2 separate regions of the Homo sapiens genome follow, and region 2 is linked to region 1. Evidence: promoter capture Hi-C in 16 types of primary human blood cells and fetal thymus (Javierre and others, 2016). All regions are on one chromosome and are shown on one strand. Each heading gives the region's core, a stretch centred on a gene start or on the middle of the fragment in contact. The rest is flanking DNA. Distances are from core to core; before and after follow the strand shown. Region 1 holds the start of PKP4-AS1 (PKP4 antisense RNA 1). Region 2 overlaps GALNT5 (polypeptide N-acetylgalactosaminyltransferase 5).

Region 1 (7,403 bases), core at 2,793-5,292:
AAACAAGTCCAGGTGAAAGGCTGGCTCACATCTTGTCTTTCCTTCCCTCTGTCCCCCGCAACGAGCAAGGGCTCTGTTTGAAGAAAGATGCCTCCCACTCCTCGGCCTACGTGTCCTCCAAGAGGCTGCCCACCTTCCTTCTCACATGCAACCTGCACACACCTGCGGGCGACAGATGGATTTTTCTAACCATGCTCTACTCAGAGTTTTCTCTCCTCAGAATTTCAGCATCCAGAATGTGTGTGTGTATGTGTTTTTGTGTTGACGAATTTCTGCCCACCTAAAAAGCAAATCATCTCTAATATCTTTGCTTACATCACTGTGAGACCCGCAGGTGAGGCCTCACCTTAAAAGGCATTAAATTCACTGCAAGGCTTTGTTTAGAGAGCAAATCTGCATTGTCTAGGGGTAACAGCACCCCAGAGCCACAGCACAAAGGGCTCTCTCTTGAAGGGGAGAAGTTGCTATCATTCTCGGTCCACGCGTGGAACACATGAGCACCACAGAAATGCCAGTTGTCTTTCTCTGGTAACCACTCACATCAGAGATACAGCCTTGGCCCTCCCTTGTCAGATCAGTTTAATTACAGGCACGGATGCCCACTGGGGGGTAGGGAGCAAACTGGGATCCTTGGATTTCAATGAAGTCCAAACTGCTTTGAAATCCAGATACAGCCAACCTTCAATTATCCACACTGAGGAAAGGGAGCATGGATAATCCTGAACAGCAGATGATTAAAAAATCATTTCTTTTGGCTTTTGGGGAGGTACCATATGCTATTTGCAACAGAGCAGCAAAATTTCCTCTCTAGTTGTGTTTTGCTCAGATTAATATTGCAATGAGCTTGCATTTCTCCTCATGCACCAGCTGCCAGCAGAGGGGTTCGGACAGAGGTGGTGAGGAGGGAGAGGGATGGCCTGGGGTACTGACGAGAAGCCAAAGGCTCGAAAGAGAGAAGGAGAAGAAAAGAAATGAATTAAAAACTCCACATGGAGGGACCGGCTATTAGAGGGTAAATCCTCCTGGGGCATTGCCTTACTCTTATCTAACTTTCAAGCATATACTTTCTGCCTGTGTGCATGAACCATCTCTTTAGATGCCTGGTCGACTCTCTATGGTGTGTGACTAGTGCTCGCCTGCCTCCTTGCCTGGGCTTATGCTGTACCACCTGCCTGAAATGCTCCTTTCCTCTCCTGTCCCAACCAAATTTCATCTATCTTTCAAGATCCAGCACGTTTCTAGTCTTCTCCACAAAGCCTTTTCCAATCACACCCATATGAGGATCTTCTTCCTCTCTTCCATGCCCCTTCTGAATGCCCCTAGCACAGTATTCTCTGTGGCAACCTATCTGGAGCATAGGCTCCATGAGGTGGGGACAGGTGCTGCGCCAGGCCTCTCGGTGTTCCCTCTGGCAGCTGCACAGTGTTTGGGACATGCCCGATAGTTGTCCCCTACTGGAAGACTGATGGACTAAATATTGCAAGAAGGCACGAAGACACTAAACCAGTGGTTCTCAAGCTTGAGTGGCCTAAGACTTCCCTGGGGGACTTGGTAAAAGGGTTTCCTGGGATCAGCCCCCAGAGATGCTGCTTCAGCAGGTTGGGTGGAGCTCAGAGTTGGGCATTTTCAACAAGTCAGTTCTTAGGTGACTGACCGCTGTGGAGTCAGTTGTAAAGGCACATATCACCAACACTCACACACCAAGGAACTTTCATCCTTGTGTTCCAGTTACAAAGGTGAAGCCAAAAGGTTAAAAACAGACACAGCAAAACACACTGGGGTTATTAGTGTTGTCTCTCATAATTCCTAATGCTGATTTCAGCATTTTCTTAAAAAGGAAAAAAAAAAGTGGAAGCTAAAAGTACAGAGGTTTGCAACAGATTCTCCATATTTCTTTGATCCAAAACTGCACCTTCTCCACTTTTTAGCATCTCTGATATCAGAGTACAGCTTGCAATCGGTGGTATGCTACAACTAGCTTGGTCCTAGCTCCACTCCCCGCCATCACACTTCAGTGAATTATGTGCTGTGCTGGCACTACACATGTTGAGTTTCACTGCCATTTAAGAGCTTTCAAAAAGATTATGTGACAATTTGGCATTGAAATGAAAAATTACTGCATATACAGAAGAGCATGAAAACAGAGCAGCAAGACATAAATTTGATATTAGTGAAACCATTTGTTGGAGGAATAATCACACTTCCATATTTTCTTGCAAAGAAGCAACAACCAATAGGATCAATTGCTTTATAGCTTTGCTGCTCAAACTGTAGTGCTGGGGCCGGCAGCATTGGCCTCAGCTGGGAGCTTGTGAGAACTGCCGGATCTCAGGCTCTAGCCCAGACCTGTTGTATATCTACTGTTTAGCAAGATCCCCAGGTGATTTGTATGAACAGGGAAGTTTGAGAAGCATAGCTTTATAGGGCTTATGAAGGGAAGATATCCACAAGTAGATAAAGCTGAGTTAGGTTTGTTACCACGATATACACAAAAGGATCATCTATCACACACTAGGCAAAAAAGCTTGTAAAAACAGATGTCAGCGGCTGAAAAAATACGGGAGACCATAAGAGAGTGTATCGCCAGTTCACATGAAAGCCCAGAGGATGTTAATTGTGTGGTTTGGAAAAAATGTGTGGCATTGATGACTGCAAAGTGGTTCAGAAGAGTGAGAATGTGAAGTTTTGTGGAACACCTTAAGCAATTCATTTCACTTGTGTTTTCCTTTTTAGATACGTCGAGTGCTACACGTAACAAGAGATGTTTAAATAAATATGAAAGAGCTCTTTCAATATGGAAAACATTGTATCAGGAAAGAAAGCATTGTGTCATAGTTTAATTTGCAACTATTTTTTTCCTTAACTATATAGAAAATGAACATATCTTATAATAAAAGGCATCTCAGATTTAATGAAATATATATGGAAGTTGCCCATACTTTGCTATAATTGCCTTTTGCCTTTTCTCTTAGAGTTGAAATTTCAGTAACCATTGTCTTCACTCTGGTGATTACTAACATCAAGATATTTTACTTAAAAAACAAAATTTTGAGTTTGTTGCTTTTGCTTTTTTTTTTTCCTTTCCTTGAGACAGAGTCTCGCTTTATCACCCAGGCTGGAGTGCAGTGGAGTGATCTCGGCTCACTGTAACCTCCGCCTGCTGGATTCAAGCAATTCTTCTGCCTCAGCCTCCTGAGTAGCTGGAATTACAGGCACATGCCACCACGCCCAGCTAATTTTTGTATTTTTAATAGAGATGGGGTGGGGTGGGGCGGGGCGGGGCGGGGGGAGGGTCACCATGTTGGCCAGGCTGGTCTCGAACTCCTGACCTCAAGTGATCCGCCAGCCTTGGCCTCCCAAAGTGCTGGGATTACAGGCGTGAGCCACCACGCCCGGCCATTGCTTTTGCTTTTAAACTTTATGTTTTTAAGGGCTATGTACTCAATGCCATTAATCTACTAAGAAAAGAACAGTTTGTCTGCTCTAGCCGCCGTACTTTAGAATTTAGAAAATTAAATAAGAAAGGAAAAAATGTCACGCAAGAGGTGGAAATGATACAGCAAGACTGCCGTCCAGACAGACTTTAACAGTGATATATCCTCTTTTGCTATTTCAAACAATGGCAATCACATTTTAAAAAACCGAATAGCTGCTTTCACAATGAGCTCAACCTGAGCTCATTTAATCCTGAGAAACCTGTGTAACAGGTAGTACTATCTTCTTTTTCACAAATAAAGAGAGCGAGGTCAGTGAAATGAAATAACTCACCCAAGAAGAGAAGTGTTGTCAGTGGTGGGCCCAGAATTCAAAGGAGGCATCCCCCAGCCCCCTAAGCCAGCGTCTCTGCAGTGGCAGCTCCTCCATACACACTGGAGCCTGAAGCCTGGATTGGCCCTCTGGCGACAGATTATTTGAAAATCATTCCTCAGTTTTAGTGAACAATCCATACATTGTCTTCGTGGACTTGAAGGTCTTCAGTGGGCTGCCTCCTGAGGCTGCCTTTTGCTGGGTAATACCTTAGGATGTGAGAGCCGCTTGCCTTTAAATATGGAACCAGCTGCTACGTGCTCTTGACCACGGCAAAGCTGGCAGGACCTCAGATTTCCTTATGCGCAAAATGTCCCCATTTTTTGCAGAGTTTCTTGGAGCGTCCTTCTAAGGTTGAGCTCAGCTCACTTCACTAGGTTGTCATTTAAGAGCATATTGTGGGATGGACCTCATGCCTGACCCTGGGGTGCCATCTCACTGCCAACCTTTGACCCCGCTTTATGGCCTCACTGAGAACCTTCTCCCCCAAGATTCTCACTCCTTTAAATAACTCAGAATGCTAGTCTAAAAAGTTATCCCTCTTCCTTCTCATTAACTGCATTAGTGGTTTTCCATCTTTGCCAACATTGGAATCACCTGGGGAGCATTACAAAAATCTCCAGGCTCGGACCACACCTCCTGTCAATTAAATCAGAAGCTGTGGACGTGGGATCCAGGAACAGTATTTTTGAAACTGTGCAGGTGATTTCAATATGCAACCAAGTTTGTGAGACAGTACATCAGGTTAGTTGTCCACGAGCTTTACTTTTATAAACCTTTCCAATTAAGTTTTTCACTTTAAGTTAAAAGCCCTTCAGTATTAGACCAGGTGGGGTGGCTCATGCCTGTAGTCCCAGCACTTTGGGAGGCTGAGTGGGCAGACCACCTGAGGTCAGGAGTTCAAGACCAGTGACCAGCCTGACCAACATGGCAACCCCATCTCTACCAAAAATACAAAAATTAACCCTGCATGGTGGTGCCTGCCTCTAATCCCAGCTACTCTGGAGGCTGAGGCAGGAGAATCACTTGAACCCAGGAGGTAGAGGTTGCAGTGAGCCGAGATGGTGCCACTGCACCCCAGCCTGGGCAAAAGAGCGAGACTATGCCTGAAAAAAAAAAAAAAAAGAAAAGCTCTTCCGTATTCTTCCCTCACCTGCATAACCACTTTTCAAAAACACCTTTTGTTTTTATTACAAAAAGAACACACATTTATTGTGCAACCTTTAGTTTTGCAAATACAGCTAAGCAAAGAGAAGGAATTACAAATCACCAGTGATCTTACTATGAGGCAATAATTCCTGCTAATGTGTTCATATGGATTTCTCTAGCATCTTTTCCTTGTTTCTATCATGTGCATGTGTATTTTATTGTACATATGGTTTTGTAGCCTCCTTTTCTCATCTGAACGCCTTTTCGATTGAACTTCTCAACCTCCTGTCTTTTCCTCCTCTGACCTGACCTCTGTAACTTTAATAAGTCAGTTTTTCTTGGGCCTTTCAACTTGACCTTCTGTGAATTCTGAAGCCTCCTTTTAACCTAATGGCCAATTCAGTTCACAAGTGCTAAACCTGTTCCTTCTGGAGTCACTGTCTTTCCAAATGGCTCTACCATCTGGCTGCCCAACTGCTCAAGTCAAATGTGTCTGAGGTCATCCTAGATTCCTTGGACACATTACACTGCATTTCTAACCAACTATCAAAGCATGTCTATTGTGCCTCTTAAATATTTTTTGAATCCTTATTCATCTCTCCATCCACATTTGCAACTTCCATCCAGGGCCCCATTACATTTTGCCTCCATTGTCACAGCCTCCTAACTAGCCTCTTTATCCCCAGCCTTGCTTCCCTCTAGACCACTCCCCCACAACATCTGGGTGATATCACAAAGTTATTACCTTTGAGATAAAGTCTACACTCCTTCCTAAGGTTTTCAAAGCCGATATGAGCCAGCATCTGCTTAAATAATGCCCACTCTATCCTTCTCCCATGACTCCACCACACACCTGGTCCATGATGCTTCAGAAACATTGACTGCTTCCCTCTTTGTTCTACCTTAAACACGCTTCTCGTTTCTTCTGGTGAATGCCTGCTCATTTTGCAGGTCTCAGATGGATCCCCGCTTTCCTGGAGAAGTCTTTCCTGACTCCCCAGAGCTGGATCAGATGCCTCTCTTTGTGCTCCCCTAATACGCTGTATCTGCCCTATTGCAGCACACATCACATTGAATTGCACTGGCCTCTTTTCTTGGCTGTGTCTTCTCCAAACTGGAACACCAGGGCCACATCTGTTTTGCTCGACATAATGTCTCCAGCATCTAGCAACACTAACGAAAACATCTGTTGAATGAATGGTGAATGATTGAAGCCCTTCATACCACAACATGCAGTCTTGCGGCACAGACAGGGGTCTTTTCTGTATTGTGCTCTCAGTTGCAACACAGAACATCAACAGGTACTGGGCAGTGTCTTCTCTATAGAGCAAAGGGGCCCAGTGATAAGGGGATGACTTCCTCCTGCCCTATAGACCAGTCTCCCAAACTTTCTCGACTGCATAGCCTTTCCTAGTTCTTTTTTTCCCTCTTCCTGGCTTCCTCCAGCTTTGCAACCTTCAAGTCAAATTAGCCAAGTTGAATTTTATATGAGCTTAGTTTTATTTTTCACAGTGGAAGCTCCTCATCTCTTCATCAATAATAGACATCACTGTAACCCAAAGCTCTGTGGCTTTTCCAATAGAATCATGTTAATAAATATCTGGTGTTAGTTTGCTGTTGATAGCAACATTTCCAACTCTTTAGTGTTGGCCAAAAAAAAAAAAAAAAAAGAAAAAGAAAAAAAAGAAAAAGAAAGGAGTTGGCAAAAGCAGAGAAGAGCAGGCATGGTTTCTAGCCTTTCTCTCAAAATGTGAACCCTTAGTGCCCCTGAACTAGCTGGATGCCATTCTGGGGATAGAGCAGGTTTTACAGAAGCTTGTGTATTTATAATTTAGGGGTTTTCTTTAAGAAAAAGAGTATAAAACTATAGATATATGGCTTGCAGTTCTTGAAAGTTGCTTGTGCAAGTGCAGTGGGGGCCCTTGAAAACCATCCTTCATTCAATTAATTTGCTTTCCATCTCTATCATAATTTTTATAACTGGAGAAACTGAATCCTAGAGTAATGGAGCTGAGCATGAGTCAGCTTGAGAAGCTCTGGTTGCCCAGCCCTCCCTGCTGCAGGACCTGCAGTTCGTCGTGAAGCTACATGGACTCGAAACACTCACAAAATCCCCAGCTCCCGGTTTCATTCACAGGCCATGCCAGAAGGGTAAAAACAGAAAGGTAAAAAATAAATATTTTTCAATGAACTCAGCCTCTGTGTGGGCAATAAGCTGCTTGGTTTGGTAGGAAGAACGCTGGGCTGGGAGTTGACAGGGGCAGTTGTTGTTCATTCTATTAAGCACTTAGGAAAATAGACGTGCTGATGCTGATTTTGAAACAGATTAATATTGAGCCAGATAACAAGTTTCTACTCCACATTAATAGGAAAAAAATGGTGGATTCTGAGCTCAGTGGAGCTAAGAATTTAAAGAGGTAACCAGTTTTGTAAGAACAGGGAAGAAA
Region 2 (3,676 bases), core at 979-3,478, 1.4 Mb before region 1:
AGGATGGTATCCAAAGGGAAGAAGCTAAGCCAGATAAGGTAGCCAGAGTACAAGGCTGAGAAAACATCAAGAAAGAGGAGAAGCTGGGGAAAAGCCATTTCAAACCCCTTCTAGGAGTGAAGCTGCATTTGAAGAGGATGGTAAGACACGTGGGTTTAGATATGATTAGTCAAGCCTTCAGCTGGGGTTCTTAGACAGTCATGCTTATTTCTAATCTTTTATTTCTAATTTAATTTGACTTATAACTAACCCCAGTGTTTTTGTTTTATTTCAGCTTCCTTTTTCTTCATCCAAGAAATTCTTTAAAAATGTGACCATTAGTTATCCCGCCCTTTTAGGCCAAATTTTTTCAGTTCTTCTTGAGAGTGGATTATACCATGCTTTCTGTCTGGAAAATCTCCTGATAGCAAAAACTTACTATAATATTCCCCCTTGAAAGTATTCGGGAAATCCAGGAAAGCTATGAAAGACAAGAAACTAGTCTTAAAAAAATGGTTCTGTTTTTTACAAAATTCAACTGATAAATAAGTTTATGTGACCTGTTTTTAGATAACGCACTGTATTATAAAATTGCCATTTTTATGGGTCCAAATAGAATGGCAGCTACTTTAAGTGGCTCAACCTGGTAACTTATCAGACATTTTGGATTTATATACACTGTTCAAATAACAACATGTCAAATATAACTGTAAAATAAATTTACAATTTTTAATTTCAACCGCTGAGCAGAAAAAAAAAAAAGAAAGGAATTTCCACTATTCTAATATTTCCCATTCCAGCAACGCAGAATCTCAGTCAGAGTAATAATAAGCTTTAACCACCAGAGGGCACTAGAAAACTACCTTTGGGCTCCGCTGTTGCGCTAACCTGAGTGAGTTCCTATGAAATTTCTGGAGAGCTCTCCTAATGAAACAGCCTTCTGCTGATGCCTCCGCTATACTATATCAAAATGCACCAAGTATTTTAAAAAGTGATTTTAACAAATTCCTTCTATTTTCCTTTGTTGTCTTCCTTAAACAAATTTCAGTGAAGATGTAGTTTGCTCCCTTCTGAAGCAAACCAGCAGGGAGCGTTATTAACATTTTTAAAAAATTAGGACCTTTCTCCAGGTAATTTACAACAAATTAAGTAGATCATTATTTTAGATAGACAATCGTGGAAAGTTCCAAGAAAATAAACTCCACAACTTCTTTTTGTTACTTGCTTCGTTTCCCTTCTTTCAACCTCCACTACGGAATTTAGATCCAGTGAAAGTTTTGTGTTTTGTAATAAGAACAAACATTTTCTTATCGAACCAACAATATTTGAAGCTAATAATCTCACCAATAATGTATTTTTCACTGGATTAAACTGCTGGCAAACAGTCTATAGCTCCGTTTCCCTTTTTTCAACCTCCACAAGCAGAAATTTAAATCCAGTGAAAGTTTTGGTTTTTTGTAATAAGAAGAAATATTTTCTTATTGAAACGACAACATTTGAAGCTAATGAAAGAATCTCACCAATAATGTATTTTTACACTGGATTAAACCGCTGGCAAATAGCCTAATGTTTAACAATTCTGTCATAAATTGTGCGGAATGTCTACTTCCTAAATTGGAAAATGAAATAATACAACATGGATAATTTAAAATTCATACACTGCCTATTTTTTTTAAAGATTAAAATGGTTTACAGTAAAAACATGGATCAATTATTTTTAAATAAAAAGGAAAATTCTGAAAACAACTAATAATGAAATGAAGAATAACAATTCCAAAACACTTCAGAGATGATGTCTATATGAAGAAAAGTATTAGGTTGGTGTAAAAGTACCTTCCATGGCAAAAACCTCAATTAAATAGTTTCCTCAGTAATTTCTAAGAAAAAGGAAAAAAAAATCTTCAGGTCAAATGAGGGAGGGACATGTAAGGGACAGAAAAGTTTTATCTTTCCTTCCAATGCTTTTCGGTTCTTGGAAGGATTATACAAAATAGACACAAATAGTTAAACAGGGGGTTCCCAAACACTGTCCTGACCAATGTTACTTGTGCTGTCTCAGGGTTCCATGGTCAAGCACATTTGAGAAACATTTGTACAACATTCTGACAGCAAGCTGAACATTAACACCCTGAAGATTTTGAGAAGTTCTGGAGTAGAACCACCTGTTCGGCTCTGTGGAAACCAGAATTTTCCAAATTTGTTTGAAGATAGAATATTTCTGCATGATCCACAAATACAGGAGCTTACATAATATTTATCTCTGCTTCAGTACAGAGAGCAATTGCAGCATGCTTTCCTTCCTTTAAGCCCCGAGATTATTCTACCTTCATGTCTTTCTATTCACCTTCCTCTCTGAAGTTCAGGGGTGGGACTGTGGGGGCATTGAATCCTTCTGTGCCTTGTGATGCCCACATTTACTAACAGTGAGCTGTCTCCTCCCATATTTGTCATTTTAAATTGCTAATAGAGCTTTCTCTGAGGATTTTTGATAGAGATTCCATCCTTCCATAGTTGCTTTGTTTCTGCCTGTGCCAGGCACCTCAGAAGTAATTAACAACCTGGTACTATTTTTAATGTTTGTTTCTATGCCTTGAAAGTCTGTGATGGTTCCTATCCAAGGCAGGTGGTGTAAATATTCATCTCAAATCCAAATGAAGCCTGGTGTAAAGTTTCAGATTCTCAGGGACAATCCAGCTTCCTTGTTTTCTCCCTTTGCTAATGGGCAAATTGTTTTTCCCAGTGCAGCATTCAACTGAAGATCTGTTTTTCCGCTGTTATGTGGAAGACCTGAATTCCAGATTTTTGGTTTACACATACCTCTGTTTTTCTTCCATCCATATGAGGGAACAAGTCTTTCTTGCCAACCTTTGCAAGTTTCCCTGTAGCCTTTAATTTTTTCCGCATATTCTGATCCCTGAAGATGTCCCTTACTTTCTTGTTCACTAAGCTAAGCATGTAAAATTGAGGACCAATGTACTGAGCCCCCTTTTATGAAGTCTGGCAATTCTGTGAGCATCCAGTCTGCATCAGTGCAGCACCCTGAGTTAGAGCTCTTTGTTAGGCATCATAGAACAGGAAGGACACAAATAGTGTCCCTGGCAACAAAGACTTCAGCTCCTCCCAGCTCAGGAGGCTTTCCCAGGACATGTCCTATAGATTCGGCTCTGCACAGCTGTTCGAGAAATCTGAAAACCCTAAGTTGCACTGTTAACCCATCATCTTGTTAGCCCTGCCCAGGATGTCAAAGGGGGAAAGGAAATCAACATTTTTCTGCATTAAATGGTGACTTAAAGAAAGCTACCTCCATATTTGACCCTGTAAATCCATTAAAAACCTGGGGGCCTGCCAGAAAGTGCCTTTATGCTTGGCTCTGTATTAGCTTTCGTGACTTTCCTATAATGAATTGTAGCTTGCTTGGGTCATTAAGAAGATTCTGACAGGGAATCAGCTGGAATCTGCTGTTCTTTGAAGGACTCAATTTATCTATGATTCAGTGCTTAAGCAGTCAAAAGGCTTGAAGGGGTCAGTCAGGGAACATAGCTCATAACTCTTATAGGTGCATTGACTTTTAGTATATGCATTAGATAAACTTAAGACAAGAAAATAATTACTTTTCTTGCCACCTTTGCTCATTTGTTATTTAGCATTCCAGGCAAGGGTTAATTAAAAGCTTCTGTGTGTTGGCTCTATGGCTGAT

Evidence for each region. The method cuts DNA at HindIII sites, captures the fragments that hold promoters and counts their contacts. A CHiCAGO score of 5 or more calls a contact.
Region 2: a fragment that was not itself captured here is called in contact with the fragment with the promoter of PKP4-AS1 in region 1 in 1 of 17 cell types (total B cells); the score reaches 6.1 in total B cells.

Annotation. Positions count from the first base shown.
Region 1 is chr2:158,730,960-158,738,362 of GRCh38, forward strand. It overlaps PKP4-AS1 (PKP4 antisense RNA 1), which reads right to left and starts at 4,043. Exons shown (of 4, transcript NR_135242.1): 1 at 3,769-4,043. The HindIII fragment of the contact is 4,247 bases long and covers 2,523-6,769 here.
Region 2 is chr2:157,301,854-157,305,529 of GRCh38, forward strand. All of the region lies in intron 7 of GALNT5 (polypeptide N-acetylgalactosaminyltransferase 5), which reads left to right. Among named protein-coding and RNA genes, the nearest start is that of ERMN, 22 kb to the right of the region's middle. RefSeq lists a silencer at 757-836. The HindIII fragment of the contact is 2,838 bases long and covers 810-3,647 here.